Linked DNA regions of Homo sapiens: region 2 is linked to region 1. Evidence: promoter capture Hi-C in human tissues and cell types (Jung and others, 2019). All regions are on one chromosome and are shown on one strand. The core of a region is centred on a gene start or on the middle of the fragment in contact, and the rest is flanking DNA. Distances in the headings are between cores, read along the strand shown. Region 1 holds the start of HECA (hdc homolog, cell cycle regulator). Region 2 overlaps LOC105378027 (a long non-coding RNA gene).

Region 1 (3,749 bases), core at 318-2,817:
AAAAACAAAACAAAAAAGTGCCTGATCTACATAAAGAATGGCTTCAAAAGCTGACGCTATAAATTAAAAGCCAGATATAACAATTCAAATCTCCCTTCATTAAAATACCTACGTTGTCTTCCTGGAAAAAGTGCCTGACTAGAGGAATTCAAAGAACTGTCCAAATAAGTAAGTGTTTGCCCAGCACCTTATAACGAAAACCATGGCTCTGTAATGAGAACAGAAATCCTGTCACATCTGGGCCAGTTCCTAAGTGTCCCCTCAAAAGGAACATTCAGGCACTACCTAAGATTATGAGGCTTCCTTCTGAAAATGTTAAGCACAATGACATAGAGAATGATTTTTCTTTTCTTTCTTTTCTTTTTTTTTTTTTTTTTTTAACTCCGGGCTGAGAACGGAAGTCAAGTTCAGATTCTCTTCCTTCCTCAAGCAAGCCAAAAAATTAAAGAGCAAACACAGAGGCCCTAAATGTCTCGAGGCCTCTTCACCTGTGGCGATCGACGCAGCAAGCCTGGGTGTGCTAAGAATTGAGGCTCTCTCTCCTTCATTCCGGGGGTTACGGGTGGCCTTGGAGCACCGGGAAGAATTAACCGGTGCCTAAGTTTTCAATCGGATCATTCTTCTCAACTTGGGCGGCTCTTTCCTCCCTTCCTTCCTCCCTTCGGCCCGGCACACACGGCGGGGCAGTGCCAGCGCGGGCAGCAGGCTGGGCCCGAGGGCAGCGCTGCCGCAGCCGGGAGCCCCTCAGAGTGTGGGGCGCGGGCTGCCCCCCGCGCGGACACCGGGCAGGGGCCGCAGATCTGTCCCCGCCGCCAGGCGTGGGGACCGCGAAGGGGCAGCCGCGGCGGGGCGGAGGGGCGGGGTGAGCACTTCCTGACTCTCGCATTGTCCACGCACCGCCCGCGCCACCCAGGGCCCCGCCACCGCGCCGTCCCCGTCGGGGAGGAAGTTGGCGCTCGCCCCGCCAGCCCCGTCTTACCGTTTTTGGCATCGCCCGCGGCCGCAGCCCCCGCGGCGGCCGCAGCGTTCGCGGCGCCAGTCCCCGCGCCTCCGGCGCCCGCCGCGCCTCCGGCGCCCGGCGCGCCCGCCGCCGCCGCCCCGCAACCGGCCGCCGCCGCCAGGGCCCCCCCGGCCGCCGCTCCCGCCGCGCCCGCCGCTGCCAGGGCCCCGGCTCCATTTTCCTGCTCGTCGCCGCTGCTGTTGGCGCGCTTGTTTTTGCGGCCGCCTTTGCTGTTTTTGGGGTTGGGCATCTCGCTCGCTCGCGTCCAGGTAGGTGCCCGGCGTCAGCGAAGGCGGATCCCAGAGGCACGGCCGTTCCCGGCCCTGCGTGAAGCCGGCTCCGGGAAAGAACGGAGGGCGCGAGCCGGCGGTTCCCTCGGCTCCCGTCTAGCCGCACGGCCCGTGCCGCGCCATCCTGGCCGCCGCGCCCTCTCCGGCTTCCTGGAGCCGGCACGCGGCCACCCGAGGCTCGCAGCCGCGCGGGCGCCGCGGGCCCGGGGCGCAAGCGAGACGCTCCCGAGCCGGAGGGAAAAGGCGGGTCTCCGGCTTGTTTTGATTCGGCTGCACTGACACGCTCTGGGCCCGCCCCCTCCCGTGACGACACTGGGGATTCGGCCTGGCCGCGCCCACCAGGTGACCTCACGGCTGACGGGACCGCCCGCGTGACGTCACGCCCCGCGCGGGGCCTGCCCACCTCGAGTGACGTCATCCAGGCGTCCCCACCCGGGCCTCCTGGACTCCCGGGCGTTCATGAGCTGCCCTGCTTGACTTGCTCCACCCGCCAGTGCAGTGGCATGTGGAGTTCTTCGGTGGCCTCCTGGCCTTAATGTAATTGAGGCTTAGAACAGTATGGTCTGGAAAAATAAGCTGTGACTAGAGCAAGAATGGAAAACAAAAGATTTTGGATTAATAACTCATTCAAAGGCTATGCCTTTCAGTAACAGTAATTAAAGAAACAGGGGACCGGGCGCGGTGGCTTATGCCTGTAATCCCAGCACTTTGGGAGGCCGAGGCGGGTGTATCACGAGGTCAAGAGATCGAGACCATCCTGGCCAACGTGGTGAAACCCTGTCTCTACTAAAAATACAAAAAAAAATTAGCTGGGCGTGGTGGCGTGCGCCTGTAGTCCCAGAAACTCGGGAAGCTGAGGCAGGAGAATCACTTGAACCTGGGATCCGAGATCGCGCCACTGCACTCCAGCTTGAGCAACAGAGCGAGACTCTGTCTCAAAAAAAAAAAAAAAAAAAGAAAAGAAAGAAAGAAACAGGGTAGAGTTCCCAGACAATGGGGATGAACACCAGGGTCCTGAATGGGAAGCCTTCACAGTCTGGTGGTGAAAACAATTCACTCAAACAAGACCCATCATCCAGGGATGTAACTAGATGTTGCCTGGACTCTGAAGCAGTCCCTGCTTGGGGGGAACCCATCCCTATGCATAGGGCTGAGTTGTCCTGAAAGATAGTGAAAGATAGGTAGCCAGGTTATGAGCAGTAGGAGATTAGGTGACACCAGTGAAGACAGGCAATATGAGGGCAGGGGACCCCTGGGAAGAGCTCCCCTTGATCTCTTTCTGCAATTCTATTCTACCTTTTCGGCCAACTCCTTCCCTTCCTTCAGGTCTCAGCTCAAATACATCACTTCCACAGAGACCTTCCCAGGAGAGCTGTCAGAAGTTCCACCCTGTTATTTTCCTCCTCCATCTCTAATTATGTTGGCAATGTAGGTGTTTACTTATTTCTTGTATATCTCCCTCTCACTGAAATGAAACCTCCATGGATAGATTTTATCTGCCTTGGGCACATCAGAGAACAGCTGGCATAAATTTGTTGAATGTATAAATTAGGTTCCTTCCTCACGAACTGTGGAGGAAAGACTAGTTTAGCTGACAGCTTTACAGTGTTCCCCTTTTATAGTGTAATCTTTAATTCAGCCCTTTAGTAAAAGCTCTGTCACGGTGTTGTTGTTACCATTAGAGGGTCTTGACTGCAAGTCGTCCAAGTTCTTGGCATTTTGAACAAACAATTGGACCAAACGCCCAGCAAAGCAAGGAAAGAAGAAAGCAGGGATTTATTGAGAATGAAAGTACACTCCACAGTATGGAAGCGGCCCCAGCGGTGGCTCAAGGTTCCGGATGCAGAATCTTCTGAGGTCCAAATACCCCCTGGAGGTTTCTCATGTAAATGAAGTGGTGACGCACAATTAGTCTGATTGGTTGCTTTCGTCAACCAATCAGAGGCTGAAGTGGAGTTAACAAAGGTCACACTTCTGTGCAATCACACTTTTTGCACACTTCTGTTTAAAAAGCAACCAATCAGAGGCTAAGGTGAAGTTACAAAGTTGCACTTCTATGCAAAGACTCCACCCGCAATCAGTCTCATTGGTTGCTGACAGCCAGTTTCCCATCTGCCACGCAGAAAAGGTGAGGGTTTGCAAAGGGAGCAGCTTCTGGTCCTTTTGTTACTCAGGTGTGGAAAGTTAGGGTTTTCCTTTCAATTTAGTTTAGGAAGTGGGGTGAAACGCCCTTAGGTTCCCTGCCTCCAGACTCTGTTCTCTGCCTCATTGTGAACTATACAGATAGACAGGAAAGTACAAGAAACAATACTCTCCCCCACATTCAGGTAATGGAGAGGAGATTCTGATTGCGAGCTCTGGGCAACCATAGCAGAATGCATAACAGAGCCTGGAACGGCAAGAAGGAGCAAGCACTGGATACTCAGGGGAAATTGCTGGTTGGACTCTTTAGTAGAAAA
Region 2 (3,749 bases), core at 409-2,908, 1.6 Mb before region 1:
AAAGGAAGGGAGGAAAATCAGAATCAGAGTAGATGTGATGTTGAAAGTAAAGGGTGGAGTCATGCAGGACTATAAGTAGCCTCTAGAAGCTCAAAAAGGGAAGGAAATAGCTTCTCCCCTAGAGCTTCCAGAAGGAATGCATACCTGCTGGCCATTTTTGAACTTGTGATCTCTCAAAATGTAAGATAAATTTTTATTGTTTTAAGTCACTGTCTTAGTTCATTTGTGTTGCTATAAAGAAATACTGGAGGCAGGGTAACTTATAAAGGAAATAGGTTTATTTGGCTCATGGTTCTGCAGGCTTGAGGGGCCTATAAGGGGCATGAGGCTGGCGTCATCTGCTTCCGGTAAGGGCCTCGGGTTGCTTCTACTCATGGTGAAAGGTAAAGGGGAGCCTGTGTGTGAAGAGATCACATGATAAGAGAGGAAGCTATTAACTACTAGAATGGCACCAAGCCATTCAGAGGGATTTGCCCTCAAAACCCAAACACCTGCCATTACACCCTACCTCCAACTTTGAAGATCAAATTTCAACATGGAGTTTGGCAGACAAACATCCAAACTATAGCAGTGACTAAGTTTTTGATAATTTGTTACAACAGAAACAAAAAAACTAGCACAAGTTATCTAATTTATCATTGTAGAGTCTTACAATTTCTTTGTATCTTCACAAGGTAGGATTTTTTTTTCTTAACAGTAGCTTTTTAATTTTAGTAAATGATATGATTTGGATCTGTCACCCAGTTTAAAGCTCATGTCAAATTGTAATTAATCCTCAGTATTGGAGGTGGGGCCTGGTAGGAGATGATTGGATCATGGGGGCAGAGTTCTCTTGAATAGTTTAGTACCATCCCCATTAGTACTGTATAAAGAATGATTTCTCATGAGATCTGGTTATTTAAAAGTGTGCAGCACCTTCCCCCCTCTTTCTTCCTCATGCTCTGGCCATGTAAGACATGCCTGCTTCCTCTTTGCCTTTTACCATGATTGTGAGTTTGTTGAGGCCTTTCCAGAAAGCCAAGCAGGAGCCACTATGCTTCTTCCTGTACAGACTGCAGAAATCTTTTTTCTTTAAAAATTTTCCAGTTTCAGGTATTTCTTTATAGCAATGCAAAAATAGACTAATACAGAAAAGTGCAACTCAAATTGACTATTTTTTTTCAAGGATCTTGACGGTGTATCTAAAAGTTATTTACCAAACCCAACCACATAGGTATTTTTCTTAATTTTTCATTCTAGAACTTTTATATTTTCACATTTCATTTAGTTCTATAATCCATTTTGACATAAAATTTGTGTAACATGTAAGATATAGGCCTAGGTTGATATCTTTGCATATGGAAATTCAATTGTTCCAGCATCATTTAGTGAAAAGACTTTCCTTTTACCTTTGAATTGCTTCCATGCCTTCATCAAAAAAATCAGTTGACTATATTTCTGTGAATCTATCTCTGAGCTCCCTATCTGTGAATCTATCTCTGAGCTCTCTGTTTTGTTCCATTGACCTAAGTGTCTATTTTTGCATCAATATGATACTCTCTTGATTACCATAGATTTGCAGTAAATGGTTGAAATAGGACAATGTGAGTCCTCCAACTTTGTTCTTCTGAAGTATTATGTTGGCTATGCTAAGTACTGTGCCTTTCTATATAACATTGAAAAGTAACTTGTCAATATTGACAAAGTCACTTTCTGGGATTTTGGCAGGTATTGTGTTAAATTTGTGCATCAGTTAGAGAAGAATTGACATTTTCATCATATGGTAATAATTATGAACACAGAGCATCACTCCACTTATTTACATCTTTTATTTGTTTTTTTAGTTTTATGAATAGGGAACTTAGACAATATTTTGTTAAATTTATGCCTAGATACTCCCTTTTTGGAAGTTATTGTAAATAGTTTTTTTTTTAGTTAAAAATGTCAATAGTTTAATACCTTATTGATAATATATAGGGAAATTTTTGAATATGGACTTATATTCCACAAACTTGCTTATTAATCCTGGGAGGCTTTTGTAGAGTATTTGGTGTTGTCTACATAGACAATTATTTCAACTGTATATAAGGCAGTTTCATTTCTTCCTTTCCAACTGTCTAGGTCTACTTTGGCTGTTATAAGAAAATACCACAGTCTGGGTGACTTATGAATAAAGGAAATTTATTTTTCATCAGTTCTGGGAAGTCCAAGATCAAAGACCCATTAGGCTCAGTGTCTGGTGAGGGTTCACATTCTCATAGATAGCCTTCTTCTCACTCTAACATTACATGGTGAAAGAAAAGGGATCTCTCTTGCACCTTTTTTATAAAGGCATGAAGATCTCAATTATGAGGGCTCCATACCCATGACTTAATCACCTCCCAAAGGATTTACCTCTCAAGGTTAATACTATCACCTTGGGAGTGATGACTTCAGCATTAGAATTTGGAGATATGAGGAGACACAAACATTCAGGTCATATCACCAAACTGTATATATTTAATTTCATTTTGTTATTGCACTAGCAAGAACTTCTAGAATGATGTTAAATTGGAATTATAAGGGAGGATGCTCTTGACTTATTCCTGATCTTAGAAGGAAAGTATCTAATCTGTCACTGAAACTGGCCCAATAGTCCCATAGATATGGATAAACATAGAAATTGACCACTGTGGTCTTAAAGCTTGAACCTTGCATTTGTTTTATATTAATTCCTTCCTCAGGAAATGATGTTCAGGCCTCTCACAAAAAGTATTAAAGAACTGAAACTCACCAGATCACCACATTCAGACAATGAAATGCTGGACCCCTATTCATCATGATTGCTTCCTTGACCTCCCTAGTTTCTGCTTTCTTACATATCATTATATTTTTTCCCTGCTACAAAAAACCATAGTTTTAGTAGGTCGGAGAAACGGATTTGAAACTGAGGCCCTATATCCTCAGCTGCAACAACCAATTAAGGCCTTCTTCCTTGGCATTACTCATTGTATTAGTGATTGGCTTTCTGTGCAACAACTGGCAGGACCTTGACCAAACCCCTGTTGTTTTGGTAACATCACCATTAACTATATTGTTAGCTCTAGTATTTTGTAGATGTTCATTATTAATTCAAAGAAGTTCCACTCTATTACTAATTGGCCAAAAATTTTTATCCTAAATGGGTGTTAGATTTTGTCAATGGGTGTTGCTTTTTGTGAGTCAATTGAAGTGGTCATATGTTATTCCTTCAACAGCCTGTAGATATAGTAGATTTTATGTATTAATTGTTTGTATTTTTAAATTTTTTAATTGAGTCAGCTGTGCATACATGAAATAAATCTCACTTGGTTGTGTAATAATTCACAGAATAAATTCCATTTGTATGAGATCAGTTGGAATACCCCATTTCTGGTTTCATTTCTGATACTGGTAATTTGTGTCTTCTTTGTTTTTTTTCTTGGTTAATCTGGCTAGACGCTTACCAATTTTATTGATATCTTCAAAAAAACAGCTTTTGACTTTATTGATTTTCTCTTTTGTTTTCTTCTTGTGAATTGGTTGATTTCAGCTCCAATACTTATTATTTAATGGCTTTTACTTGTTGTACAGTTAGTCTGCTATTCTTCCTCTACATTCCTAAGGTAGAAGCTTAGGCTATTGATTTTAAGTCTTTCTTTTGTTTAATATGTGCATTTAATGCTATGCATTTTCCTCTAAGCATTGATTTTGCTGCATCCTGCAATATTTACTAATATGTATTTTTGTTTAGTTCAAATTATTTTTATTTC

The links. The method cuts DNA at HindIII sites, captures the fragments that hold promoters and counts their contacts. A contact is called where the count stands out against the background at its distance.
Region 2: a contact is called between a fragment that was not itself captured here and the fragment with the promoter of HECA in region 1, in 1 of the 25 tissues and cell types used here (thymus).

What each region holds. Positions count from the first base shown.
Region 1 is chr6:139,132,898-139,136,646 of GRCh38, reverse strand. HECA (hdc homolog, cell cycle regulator) reads right to left here and starts at 1,567. Exons shown (of 4, transcript NM_016217.3): 1 at 980-1,567. The coding sequence starts at 1,250. RefSeq lists enhancers at 496-615, 1,481-1,775, 3,054-3,103 and silencers at 726-995, 1,396-1,475, 1,586-1,775. The HindIII fragment of the contact is 7,882 bases long and covers 1-3,749 here.
Region 2 is chr6:140,725,555-140,729,303 of GRCh38, reverse strand. All of the region lies in intron 4 of LOC105378027 (a long non-coding RNA gene), which reads right to left. Among named protein-coding and RNA genes, the nearest start is that of MIR4465, 44 kb to the right of the region's middle. The HindIII fragment of the contact is 8,741 bases long and covers 1-3,749 here.